Regions from separate parts of the Homo sapiens genome. Here regions 1 and 3 are each linked to region 2. Evidence: promoter capture Hi-C in 16 types of primary human blood cells and fetal thymus (Javierre and others, 2016). All regions are on one chromosome and are shown on one strand. Each heading gives the region's core, a stretch centred on a gene start or on the middle of the fragment in contact. The rest is flanking DNA. Distances are from core to core; before and after follow the strand shown. Region 1 overlaps COBLL1 (cordon-bleu WH2 repeat protein like 1). Region 2 holds the start of SCN3A (sodium voltage-gated channel alpha subunit 3). Region 3 overlaps COBLL1 (cordon-bleu WH2 repeat protein like 1).

Region 1 (4,992 bases), core at 888-3,387, 500 kb before region 2:
GGTAAATTTGTATACAATTTAAAAACATATCTTCACATTTTTAAACTCTGCCTGATTGCACAGTTATTTGGTTGTGGCAGTTAATATTCTATATTGTGTTGCAAGATTCCTATATTAAACATGTAATTTTAAAATGGAACTCATTTTTATTCTTCCCAGATAAAATGCAACTGAGTATCAGAATACGTACCATCTACTTAGGTGAATTCTTTTCTCAATGACCAATTATTATTAACTATTTTGATTTACAAAATTAAAGACCCATGTTCTTAGGAACCATAGAAGAGGCACATTTCTGCCTCTGCTCTCAATTTACTTGGTTCATAAGTATTTTTCAATGTTCATATGAAAAACACTATTTTGAACAGTTATAAGCATGAAAGAATTTAAGAAACAATCTCTGGCAGCAGGAAATGAGTCTAAATGTATTTCCTTCTTTCTTTCTTATTTCTAATTTTCCACTGAGTATATGTATTTCCCAGAAATATTTTCCAAAAGAAAGAAAGTCAATGTAAACATATATTTTAAATTGAATCCCCGTTTAAAAACCCTAATTTATTGGTTTTAGAATTATAAGTCTCTCTTTTTCATATTTTTGGTAGGTTACACCTACTTTACCATTGTCTAACTCTGAATTTCTTCTCAACATTTCATGATCATTTCCAGTGATTGGCAGTCCTGGAAACCCAGAATCCATCCTCATATACAACTGACAATGATGTTAACCAAGTGTTTATAAATGGCTAGATCATTTTCCAAGAATGGCCAGTAGAGGGAGAAGGTATCTTTTATACTATAGTGACCCTCTACTCAAAAGTGACACTGACATTGACAAACTTACAAGAAGGTGATTTAGATAAGGGTAGGTAAAAAGGAAAACAGAATAAAACTACTTTAAGAATAATAGACATTATTTACTTTAAAAAACAACTAGAGTTGACAAAAGTCGTAGCAAAACAAACCATATGCAAATCAAAGTACTACGTAAATGTACTTGTGACTCTGGCACTAACTTGACAACAAAAGTCTTAACAAAAATGATACAACTTGACTATTGTTTTAAAGAGAAAGAAGCAGCTTTTAAATCATAATTTCTCAATAGGAATGCTATTGCCATCACAGTACATGCTGTGAAAAACTGACTCAAGTGGAAAAGAATGAAAAAATTATTTGCTTTTAGACCTTCTCAGTATGATATCTCACAATGGTATTGAATGTGGGAGAAAATGAATCAGTAGCACACATAATCAAGTTAATGAACACATACCACACACATACAATTATATATATATATAATTATATATATAAGTATGACATTGCGATTATCTATGTCTTATTCAAATATGAATACTACATCCTAAGTTTTCTAAATATCTTAACCTAGTTTTCTAGATTAACATAATAGATTGGACTATGAGAATTCATAAGCCACTTCCTTCTTAACCCCTTAAAACACCATTGAGTATTTTTTGAATTTTCTATTTGCATAGGATTGTTTTTCTGAAATTCAATACTAAGTACATATTTTATGAGTATCTCAGGATTCTGTTAGGTGCCATGAGTAGTGCAAAGTATCACATGTAATTTATCTGATCCAAGACTGCCTAATTCAGTTGAGGAATCATAAATATAGAACCGCAAAGCTTCTAATAATCAAGTAAAAACATGAAATGATATGATTTGGATAAAAATTGAATGGGTAAAATAGATGAAAAATTGTCTTTCAGACAAAGACAACATGAATATATGCCTTATGATATAGAAATAAGCAAATGACATCATGAGAAAAAATAAGTTGTGCTAATATGAGGATGGGAACTGGGAAACAGTGGTAAATAAGGTTATATTATTAGATGATTTGGGCCTTGAAAAATCAGGCAGAAAAGTTTCATCCAAGGAAGTTAGATGGAAAAAAAGAGAAACAGATCGCAAATAGATACACAGAAGAAACATTTTTAAGATCCAAAGTCTAAATTAGATAATTTCTATGTTTTAACAACAAAAGTAGTACACATGGTAGTTAAGGGCACACTCTAGAGCAATATTGCCCCAGTTTAAATCCTAGGTTCACCACTTACCGTAGTAGTTGTGAGACCTCAGGTGAGTTATTTAATATCTCTGTGGCACAATCATCTGTAAAATGGAACTAAAAATAATAGTACCCATAATATCCATAAATGAGGTAGGTATTAAGTGAGTTACAGGAGATTAAATGAGTTAATACATATAAAGTGTTAAGAACTGTCCTTGGCACATAATAAAAGTAAGAAAGTGTTGGCTATTAATTTATATAACTCACCATTCTCTTGGTTTGGGCCCAACGACTTCAAGTTTCTTATACTGTCAACTACCTTCTTTCCATTGCTTGTATCATATACTACACTGTGTGGTTCTCTGGAAGATACGACATTGTATGTTATATGTTGATACTATTGAAACACACACATACACACACACACAGACACACACACACACAATGAGAAACAGGCAATAATTTCCAAAGACAGATGGACTAAAATAATCATTTATTTCTGCCAAACATCGGAAATTTAATAGCAGAGAAAAAATATAACTGAGAAGAAATGCTGCTATGAAACATTAGCTTTCATGTGGTGGTCCCATTAAAAAGAAAGAAGCTTGGTAAAATAGACACTTTTCCAAAATAGTGGCTTTATTTTGCTATTATCATTTATTTGCCTTTTAAAGAAAAAGGAAATTAAATGAAACATTTTAGTTTTTCATCTGGCAAGGTCAACTATATAAATAAGAATGTAGATTGACCTCACTGATCTTTTTTTCCCTTTGGTGGTAGAATAGTTTAATAAGGAGACAATCTCATGCAAATTATAATAAACGTCTGACATATATGGTTTATTTTGCTTGGTTGATTTCATCTTTATCCATGTTGTTGCATTTCAAACCTAAGTGGACTAGACTATAGCTGTCTGTTTCTAGAATAAAGCAGAAAGTACATTCTCTGTTTCATAAAGTTGACTGCAAAGATAATACTCGTGATTTAACATCATATTCTAATATGCATAATTGTTTTCATATACCAGTGAAAATCCACCAGGAATACTTGGTAAAAATTGAAAATTAAATATTACATATAGGTCACATAGGTTAACAGGCAAAACACCCACAAAAAGAAAAATTTTCATTTTTGAATCACACAAACTATTTCTCATGGTTTATCTGACACAGGGATATTAGAACTGTCACATTTGATTTTCTTTGAATGTAATTACATGCAAATAAGTACTTCATTAATAAACATTCTTATATAATGGTAAAAAGGATAAAGTCAAAACCAAAGGGCTGACTATATTTATGTTTAAAATATCAGATCTATATTTCAGAAGACTAGTATTAATTAAACTAACGGCCACCAACACTCCAGCACAGAGACTACTTACTGTCCATCTGTGCTTTTAGTTTCTTGTTTTTCTTCCATGGAGTTTTGTGAGAACTCTCCACTACCATTGCCAAGGGCTGAGTCAGGATCATTTTTCAGTGTATTTATTATATCAGTAGATACAAAAGGAATATCTTGTGACTTCGGAGAAATATTTTCAGCTTCAACTTTAGGCACTTCACTCAGTTCTTCCTTTTCATCTATCTCTTCAAGGCTATAATCAGAGCTTATTCCAGCTACAAAGAAATGCAGATATAATCCTAAATATTAATTTGCCTCATTCATCACATGCAATTCTGGCAAGGAAGGAATTTTGAAAAATAATAATTAGCTGGACTCTTTTAAATTCTGCCTCAAAAATAATAGTGAAGTTCTTTCTCCTGGTGAGCAGTCACGTTAACATAAAACCAGATTATCTCAGACTCATAATTCCCAAAACAATTTGCTATCACTCTAGGTTTTATTCATGGTAGAGACAAGAGGTTATTTAATCTCATAAACTTTAAGTTAAATATTTCATTTAAGAAATGTCTTACAATTGAATGGTTTTTACACTCATCCAGCAACTCAATAGTGCAAATTAAAGGCAAATTAATAATTTTAAAAGTGAAAATGAAAAGCACATGAGATTTTTGTATTGTCTACAAGGGCACTCATAAAATTTGACTCAATAGTTATTAGTACCAACTATACTTGAGAATTACCTGAGCCCCCTTTAAAAATATTGAGGCTCACACCCTACTCCACAAAATCAGAATCTCTGAAGGGTGGGGCAAGGGATTTTTAAGACTACTTAGATGATTCTACTATGCAACCTCAGTTAAAAGCCACTGACCTAGATGCTTAATTTGTGAAAATACAAATAGAGCAAGTATTGGACAATGAAAATTAAGTTTTATTCCTAACCAGTTTGATTCTCAGAGGCAACTTGCTTTAACAGTTTTTCCTGTATGTCCTGAGAAAGTGTAATATACATACATAGGCTGATAACCATACTCACGTTTCCTTTTGTTAGTTTATTTAATATAAATGGAAGCATACTGTAGCCACCTAGCTTTTTTTCCACTTACAATATCTTAAATATCATCCATATTAATATATATGTTTACACATAAATATTTTCAATAGCTGTGGTTAACATTTCACTGTATAAAAAAAATGTATTTTATCACCAACAACCAGTAGCCAGCAGGGTAAAAGAGAAGGAGGCATCCTGAGCAGTTAATGTTCATGCTTATTGTCAAGATTAGCCATGGAAGTAAATGTAAGCCAGAGTGAGGTTCTGGATTTTTGCTAAATATAATTAAACATTTCCATATACACCACAGTATCTGAATGAAATTTAATTTTATCCCAAGGCTGGGGATGTGGTGGGAGGGGGGGGCGGGGTGGGGAGGTGGTGTAGCATCCAATTATAGTAATCAGCACATTCAGAAAATTTAATTTAAATTTTTAACATAATTCAATATTTAAAGTACTTAAAATATATTTTTAAAATTTTATCTCTAAGTATACAGACAGAAAAGTGTGCTATTTGTGCTCTTTGAGAAATAAACATGAGAAATTTTAATGGTATT
Region 2 (4,825 bases), core at 1,590-4,089:
ATTATGAGTTCTATAAACTCTCCAGGAATTGCCTGGAATGTTAACACTAAGTGATACTATTATAGGTACACAATTGTTGTTGTTTCAGCAAGGGCATCCTTCCAGGATGAGAATTATTCACTTTTCAGGTACATAATTATTTGGCAGTTTTATTCTATCCTTCCTGTTGTGGTGGAAGATATTATATCACCAGCACTAACGATAACAATAATAACAATGATGAAAATTTATGCCTTTATGTTTGTCCTGTTCCTTTTGATGTGAGTTAGGATGGCAGGGAGAGAGAGGAAGGAGGTTCGTAATCATGTTCCAGGATCTATACCAAGCACTGAACAGACATTATTTTAGTTACACAATCCTGTAACACAGGCATTATTATTCCTATTTTAAAGATGATGTAATAAAGGCTCAGAGAGTTTAAATAACTTGTCAGGTAATAGTGGCCATAAAATGTAACCTGCCAAGCTCTTGCTCTTAACCACTTCTCCATGTTGTTTCCTGCTTGTTTCCACTACAGAAGGAACTGGCCAAGAAACGCCCCTATTTCTCTATTTTACCACTTTCATGTTTAGCACATCAATCATAATTTACAACTCAGTGAGAGTCAAAGTTGTATCTTAATTAAGCTGAGAAACCAACTGAAGAAAAATCCAAATAAATGAGGATCAGAAAATTTTAAAAACAAAGTATTCTTATACAGCTTTGATTCTAATTTCCTTCCTTTGTAGGCAAGGAAAATGCTCTTCAGTGATACTTGGGGTCTTTTCTGAGACAACAAAACTCACTAGTAGCAGAACATGAACCAGATCCCAAGACTTTCAGCTCAGGGTTCAACCTTTTTATCTTCAGTACTCAAATAAATCACAGCATTTTTCTCAACTTTACAAATGAAATCACCACTACATTCTTTTAAAGAGTAAGTTATTCAAATGTGTTTGATATATCATTTAATCAAAGCAGGTTTAATTTCCGAAATTTTTGAAAGAGCGCATTTTGTGAAGTGAAGAACTCTGAGTGTATTTGCTTTTTCACATGGCGACCACATGTATAGATGAATAACTAAGAGACTGTTGCAACTATACCAAGAAAAATAAAAGCTAACATTTGGGGCCAAAATTAAGCATTCATTCATAAATGTAAACCAGTTCAATCAAGACCAGCTCTGATGCTTACTCAGAACAAAGTTACTCACATTTAGTCACCTGTAGAGAAGCATGGTGTGTACAATACACTCAAGTTAATTAACAGCCATTTCTGGGAACCCTGTCCAAAGAAATAGTTTTCTTTATCTCCTATGGTAGGAATTCTTCTGAAATAGACAAGACCCAGGGCTCTCCTCTCAGGCAACCACTATTTTGAAATGTTTTTGGGGGGACTATTATTGCTACTCAATGTAAAATATTAAGTGAGATGTCAATATTTTTCAACATATCATTAGGAATTACAGTTTGGAGGCCTTAAGTTCTATTTTTGAAGCCCTTTTAGCCAGTACTGACTGGAAGCCCTGTTGAAATCAGAAGTCTTCATTTCATATAGGGCACACTCTATTTGGAGTGAATGTGATGAAATGTTTCCATGCAAATTCCTACAAGCACTTATGCCTTTATCTTTGTCCTCATAAGCCACATTATACTACCTGTTGTGTATTTTAAAACCCTGTATGATTTTTAAAACTTATCTTTCAATTAATATGTATAGATTTTCTGTCAATAATTTCTTATTCTAATTATGTGGTGGCTAACTGAATGAAACATTTATGGTTATGATATAGAATATTCTAAATACAACTACAGACAATATGGATCATAGATAAAGTAAATTATTGTTTTATGGCTCCAGTGGTTCTTCCTGGTAATTAATAAAAATAAACAGTTATTAAATATATACAGAAAAACAGCAATCTATCAAGCTTATAGAACAATTAAGAATATATAATAATCTTTAAATCAATAAATTAAAAGGTAAACATTTAATATAAAATGAATATATTAAAGGATAAAGAAGTAGCATATTATGGAACATATAGAGATTATTTTATTTTTTGAAGGTTCAACCTCTTTTAAATGGTTAGTATTGGTGTTCTTTTCTCTATGAAAACAGATTTTAGAGAAAAATGATAGTGTATTTCACAAAGCCAAACACCTCTATATTGTTATCACTCCCTATATGCATGGCCTCTCTAAAGCTGTTAAATAAAAAACTAAAGCACAAGAATGATAGTTCCAATTTCACTATACATTTATGTTTAAAAAATACTGGACACACTGGGCATTTAAATAGATGACATACAGCCAGGAAACTCATTAGACTAGCTTTAAGTATAATAAAAAATATTTTTTCTGAATACAATTAATCATAAGCATCTACAAAAACACAAGACCATTGATGCCTAGTATGTACCATAAATCACCATTTCCAGACAGGCTCTATTTTCTTTGAAAGATAAAGAAATAGTAAGCAGTTTACACATCAAACGATGCCTTTGGTTCCTGTAATTTACATTTAAACAACACTGGGTTAAAAATAGCAGCATGAAGATGATTTTAAAGTAAGGAAAATGACCTGGTAGCTAGGTTCTATGGTGCAGATAATGAAATGTTTTGTCAGCTTACCTGATAAAACAGAGCCTTATGAATTACAGCATAACAAAGCCCAGCATCCAAGATGGTTAGGGTATAACGTGTCTTCCTCTGCAGCTGTTCAGCTTTTTTTTTTTTTTTTTTTTTTGACCACAGAGGTTTACAAATTAGTTACAATTTTTTTTCTTTCTTTCTCTGTGGATAAGAAAACAAAGAGACCTTTCCAGAATCCTCTCTGCTTATGCCTCCGCTTCCTGTTCTGAGATTCACTCTATGGTACCCAACATATATCAGAAAACAGCTTTGAGGAAAAAAAAAAAGAAAGAAAAAAAGGCCGATCGCACTCAAAGTGGTACCGCCATCTACTGGCGGACACACACAAAATTGAGCCAAAGAAAAAACATTCCCATTATCCTCTGTCACAGGGAGGAAAGTAAACCTGCATGAAGCATGGGTAGTCATGAAAGTGCCCCAAGATGACAGTAGAGAGGTGATGTGAGCTAAAATTTCCCAACACACTAAAAAAATGTAACTTATCTACTACATATAAATATGTATGAGACCTTTTACATATTCAGTTATTTGCATCTCACTAATTTTTTTAAAAAATTTTATCACTTTGTTGTTTTGCATGATTGTTTCACACATAAACTACTAAAATTAAAAGATATATAAATTACTGTTTGAAAAATAGGTTTTAAGTTTACATTACCCTTTACGTGTAGAGTTTTGCGAAAGCTCCCTTGTGGCCTGCTCTAGTCTTTTGAAAACCTTTTCTCTTCCTGGGATGAATTATTTTCAAGGTGAGGAATTTGACTCCTTAGAGAACAGTGTAAACACATACTCACTGATAGTATTTTTGTGTTGCTTTCTGGTAAAACATTTGCAAGAAATATCTAAATGTAGAAAAAGATTCTATACATCAGTGAACCTAGCTAATATTATTTATTAGGATATTGAAGCACACAATACATAAAGAAAATAAAAATAATCCATCAGTTATTAAGATATTTCTCAATCCAGATGTATGTTATTGTTTCATCTGACCTTTCATATCTACTTTAGAGCAAACAACTATGATTTTATTACAGTTTATCATCAATTAAATAAATACATTCATATTGACAAACCAACTGTATGGATGGACAAAAATGATGTCAAGTATTATATTAGACTTGAAAAGACACAGAGAGAAACACACAGTGCCTGCCATAAAGGAGCTCATACAAAGAAGAAAAACAAATATAGCTGATACCATATTTCCCAGCCATGTGTTCAAGAACTGTTAATTACATACTTCGTTTTCAATTGTGGCCCCCATTTTGTCTAATGGCAGAAAAATAAATCTAGTCAGTTCCAGGTAAACTAAATTACTTGAGGCTTTTCCCAATGATTTTGGGTTTGCATTCAACCAATACATGATTTTCCTCTTCTATCTCTCCTTCTCATGGAGACTGATCTAAGTTCAGGATTGTGTACATATATAGAGAAAGCAGAGTATGATCCCGTTCCCCCTTTCTCCACATGGGCATCCACTGAGGCCAGGAGTCCTGCATGATCCATGACCATCATTATCCCTCATATCTACTAACGTACCCACAGGCCCACTGGGCCCCGGGAATAGCATCCCTCCAGCTTTGCATGGCAGCATCCCCTCTTTGTCACTTCTTCCTCTAAGGAAACTTTTGTTCCTGTCCTTTAGGAGGAGAGAAGAAAAAGCAGCATGTTCCCAGGGTCACTCTTGGCTGTAATTGGCTGACTTAAGCCTTCCTCCCTGCCCCAGGCGCCTCACACAGCCATCTCTGTTCTGCTGTTTGTAAACCATGGGATGTAATGCACTCTGCAGGCTTCAGGCAAGCGAGGCACAATCTCTGCCACACTAGAATAGTGTAAATAGATGGAAACTTCTCATCTTTTCATCTTTTTAGCTAATCCTAGATTGGCAAACTATGTAAGGAGCCCTTATCAGAGACTCCTTTCCTTCTTCATAACTTCCTTCACAGACTCAAAAGAGTTTTTGCTTGGGTCTCTTCTTTCTGTACCAAAGGTAAGCTGGAGCCACTTGTTTTCCCTTGAAATCTTTTTGTCTTATGTCTAATGTATCAGTTTACTAGGGCTGCTGTAACAAACTGCCATCCTGAGGGGCTTAGACACAGAAATCATTTTTTTCACAATTCTGGCTACTCAGAGGCCAGAATCAAGTTGTCAGCATGATCATGCTTCCTCTGAAACCTGCAGGGGAAGGA
Region 3 (4,697 bases), core at 329-2,828, 490 kb before region 2:
GATGGCAAAGAGTTTCCGTTTCTCAATAGTTGAGTGTTTGTCTGAAGCAGGATGCAAAATGAGATAAAATAAAATGCCCAGTGAAGATCATTTCTTACAGTGTTTCCAGCCACAATGTAATATCCCAGAGAAAATGATGTGCCATCCCCGTAGCCAGGAGAAAAATTGATTGCTGTTGTATATCCATCATTCCAAGCAGCAGTCACACCAAATGTGCCAAATGAAAAATTCTCCAAAAGGTTCTGTGAATTCTATGGGTCAAGATTACCAAATACTTTTCCCTGACTCTTCTTCCACTTATTCAAATGTAAAATCAGCTTATGAGGCTAATTTGTCAATAAGACCAGAACATCCTTTGGCCATTGATTTTATTAAATGTGCTCTTCATAAACTCTTGGTCAGCAGATACGGTGCAGAAACTAGATTTCTGAACTTAGATTTATCTGAGAATTCTAAGTCACTTTCAATTTAAGTCAATGTAATCGAATTTCTGACTTCCCATTTCACAAATGACAATCTTATCGTAAATAACTGTGTACATTTTATATAAGAATATATGTTATATGGTTCATATAAATAAAGCATGATCTATTATATGTCTTGTTGCACAAATGGCATTTCAAATCATCAGGAAAAATCATATTTAAAAAATGCTCAAAAACTACCAAGAAATACTGCCAGAAAATTTCTAATGGGAAAGTTTTCTTTTCAAATGAACATTTTCATAGAAGATGATATATTCACCTTCATAGGAAAAATGACATGAGACTTGAAATAATGTGAAAGAGGGTACATAGAAATTTAGGGATTTGAAAGGATACTGCAGCAATAATAGTAAAATATGTGTTCTTCAAAATGTATTCTTTAGATGGAAAAAATAATTTTAGATGCAGAAATATTCTAAGAAAGCTTGGGTTAAATCATTTGCTAACTTGGATCTTTGCTATCTCGGCTAACTTTGAATAGTCTTTGGAAACTGCACAGTTAGTTTGTCAAAATTAGCTCAGCAAATCAACAGCCTTTTATGTGAGCATTTTCAGTATAAGCTCTAAAAAAACACCATCCATATACTTTAATTTGCTAATATTGAGAAATATCTTAGAAGAATGAGGCAAATTATTAAATATAGACAGCCAAAAAATATAAAATAAATGTGGTTGACAAAATTTTTCCTAAGCTACAGATTTACTGACATCAGTAAACCTTGACTAAGGCAAACATAGTTTCTGTGGCTCTTAAAAGAACAAGAAAATGCATTAAAAACTCAAAATGAATAAAATTGCTAATTATAAATCCCTTTGTCATGTGTTACTGACATTTATCTCTCTAGCTTTATTTACCCGCATGAATAAGCATTTTCTACTTCTCATGCAATGTAACTATTTCCAATATTTTCTTTCTGCTTTATTAAAATGTGCTTTGGAGAAAAAAAATGGAAAAATTAGAATACTGTACTTCTGTCAAACAGCGCACCCTTGTGGTTTATTTTGTATCCTGAACAATAAAAATTAAATAAAAGTGTCTAAAATTCACATACTTAGAACCAATTTGGTCATACATATTTTTCTTCCAAGTTATGTTTTCCTCAACATGCTATCATTTTCAATCACTAAAAATAGTGATATTTTACATTTTCAAATTGAAAACTAAATTGTTAAAATAGATACAAACGTTTATAGTGATAATGACCATCTTTGATTTTAAATTTAAAACAAGCAAGCAGTGAAATAAGTATGATTCACTTGTACGTTCATATGTTTTGCTGAATTTCCTGAATATTTGCATCTGGCTATATAAACCACATTTTTACTATTTTAAAATTCATTATTATTTTTTAAAGACACAGTCTCACCCTGTCACCCAGGCCGGAGTGCAGTGGTGAGATCACAGCTCATTGCAGCTTTGAATTCCTGTGCTCAAGTGATCCTCCCACCTCAGCCTCCTGAGTAGCTGGGACTGCAGGCACACACCAACATGCCTGGCTGATTTATTTTATTTTATTATTTTTTGTAGAGGCAGGGGTCTTACTTTGTGGCCCAGGTTGGTCTTGAACTCCCGGCTTTTAAGTGATCCTCCTACCTCGGCCTCCCAAAGTGCTGGGATTATAGGCATGAGCCATCAAGCCTGGGCTATAAACAATTTTAATTCAAGGATCAATTATATTTATATGCATTATGCAATGTACAGTATAGTTTAGTTGGACCTTAAGTTTTCAATATAACCTTATCTAAATTCTGGCTTTTCTATAAAAGCTTAAGAAATATATTGCTAAAAATTACATGGTCCAATTACCATAAAAGTAAATGTAAGCAATCTTTAAGTTAACCACGTACTTCTGAAAATTTACCAGATATATGAATGACATACTAAAATTTTACGATATAAGTGTGACACATTCTCATTGTATATACTATACCTGGCTATGAAAGCAGTGATTAATGTTTACTTATCAATTCTCTTGAACACCTACCATGTTACAGAATTTTGCTGGAGAACACAATTCCTGCCTTCTGGGTGGGGAAAAGAAAAAGGTAAAATTTAACAATGCTGCAAGCATTAAGCCATAATACAACCCTAAAGTTTATCTTTAGAGGATGAGGTAAGTAAGTCATGTTATACCCATCAATTTAATATTATTCAATCCTTCGAAAAGGGAAGCCCTTTATGAACTGCTAAGAATATCCAGAATAAATAATTCCATACCAAGAAGTAAAGTATAACATGCATGTAGTATATGGCCACCTGAGGAAAAAAAATATTTAGCATGAATATTGGTTTTAATATGCATACATTATCTCTGGAAAGACACACAAGAAACTGTTAACAGTGGTTGCCTCTGGGCAGGAGAACTTGGTGGGGGATAGGGAAGGAGAATTTTTACTGTATTCCTCTTTTTATCTTTAGAATAACATATAAAACCTATACATAATGCAAATTAAGAGAAAATAAAAAGGGACAAGAGGAACAAATTCAGAGAAGGTAAAGATTATTCTGCGCTGGCATCTTCAGAAAACTCTCCATGAATCTGATAAAAGAATGGACATCCTTTGGATGGGTAAGTAGAAATGAAGAAGATGGAAGTGGGGCCATTCCATTCTGAAAAGATACAGAACACAGGATTTTTGCATCAGCAACAATAAGTCAAATCTTCTGGTTAGAGATAGAAGTATCCTATCCTATCAATGAGGAGGCATTAAAAAGTTTAAAAGTAAAATTGTAATCATTCTGTAGAGGATCTTGGATGCCCAGAAAAATGACAACAAGCTATGCAAAATTTCTGAACTGAGAAGTGATAATTAAGAAATACAAATGCAGCAGCTTGCCACGTTGAGAATTTCAAAGACACATTAAGTACTGGTTTTCTCTTTATACTCTGTCCTGGATTTCTCTACAAAAGATGTCAGCAGAGGGAATAAAAGACATCATGAAGGGAGACTGAATGAAGGATTTGTCTCTAATTAGATGTAAAAAGAAAAAAAAACAAAGATGAACTTGAGCTTTTCAGTCTGGTGAAAAACAATGATTCGGATCTTAAATACGTCTTCCAGGTAGTCATGAGTCAATAGCAACTGTGAATTCAAATTGCAACTGGAAGAATACCGAGACTGGAATTACGAAGTTGATGTACAGTTTCCTAGGGCTGCCCTAACAAATTACTGTGACTGGGTGGCTAAAAACAACACAAATGTATTCTTCCACAGTTCTGAAATACAGAAATCTGAAATCAAGGTGTTGGCGGAGTCATGCTCCCTTTGAAGGCATTAGGGAGAACCCTCCCTTGCCTCTTCCAGCTTCCACTGACTCCTGGTAATGGTTCGCTGTGGCAGCATAATGCCAATTTCTGCCTGTCTTCACACGACCTTCTCTGTGTCTCTCTGCCTGTGTGTCTCCTCTTCTTATAAGGATACCTGCCACTGGATTTGAGCCCACCTCAAATCCAATATGAGTTCATTTCTAGATCCTTAAGTACATCTGCAAAAATTCTATTTCTAAATAAGGTCAGAATCACAGGTTTTGGAAGGGTTAGAGCTCAGACATACCTTTTGCAAGGAACATATTCAAACCACTACAGTTGAGAACCATCAGCCCACAAACTCAAAAAAGAAGAGATGTCTTCTCTGAATAAGTGCAGAAATATAGACCAAGACCATGGATTTAGTACCTCCAAATTTAGAAAATGAATAAAAGAAACAGTGACAAGAAAAAAAAAATAGAAGAGGGCTGAGATATAAGAAGAGGTTCAAGACCAAGGAAGAAAAAGACAAATCAAGACCAAGGGGGTAATTAACCACATCAAATATATCAAGAAGTTAGTTGCAGAGATGCCTAGGAAGGTATGAATTTTTGTGTGCACTACAGCTTTATCACTAAGAATTTTTGCAATGAATAAATAAAAAATGGTTCTTCAGCTTCTCTAGGGAAAGACAAATAAGTCTGGGTCCTACTGAACAATACATCAAAGAACTATCCAGATGTCCAGATCAAAAGAAAAAATAATTAGAAAATTGTATAAAGATGTGTAGTTTGCCAAAGGCAACATACTAAAAAAAAAAAGATTACTTAACACAGGGGCAGCAACTGGTCACAGAGCAGAGGGAGAGAATCAAAAGAAATAGCTTTCAGTGAGGTCACTGGTGGCACAGCCCAGAATTTTAAGAAACAGACTATTAGAAAGACAACATAGACCTCTTGGGGAG

The links. The method cuts DNA at HindIII sites, captures the fragments that hold promoters and counts their contacts. A CHiCAGO score of 5 or more calls a contact.
Region 1: a contact is called between a fragment that was not itself captured here and the fragment with the promoter of SCN3A in region 2, in 2 of 17 cell types (total B cells and naive B cells). The highest score is 9.1, in total B cells.
Region 3: a contact is called between a fragment that was not itself captured here and the fragment with the promoter of SCN3A in region 2, in 2 of 17 cell types (naive B cells and total B cells). The highest score is 6.5, in naive B cells.

What each region holds. Positions count from the first base shown.
Region 1 is chr2:164,697,106-164,702,097 of GRCh38, forward strand. COBLL1 (cordon-bleu WH2 repeat protein like 1) reads right to left here. Exons shown (of 14, transcript NM_001365672.2): 10 at 3,417-3,651; 11 at 2,300-2,394. Among named protein-coding and RNA genes, the nearest start is that of SNORA70F, 12 kb to the left of the region's middle. The HindIII fragment of the contact is 993 bases long and covers 1,642-2,634 here.
Region 2 is chr2:165,201,211-165,206,035 of GRCh38, forward strand. It overlaps SCN3A (sodium voltage-gated channel alpha subunit 3), which reads right to left and starts at 2,840. Exons shown (of 28, transcript NM_006922.4): 1 at 2,613-2,840. The HindIII fragment of the contact is 4,908 bases long and covers 1,908-4,825 here.
Region 3 is chr2:164,715,735-164,720,431 of GRCh38, forward strand. The region is part of intron 7 of COBLL1 (cordon-bleu WH2 repeat protein like 1); the gene reads right to left. Among named protein-coding and RNA genes, the nearest start is that of SNORA70F, 30 kb to the left of the region's middle. The HindIII fragment of the contact is 1,343 bases long and covers 908-2,250 here.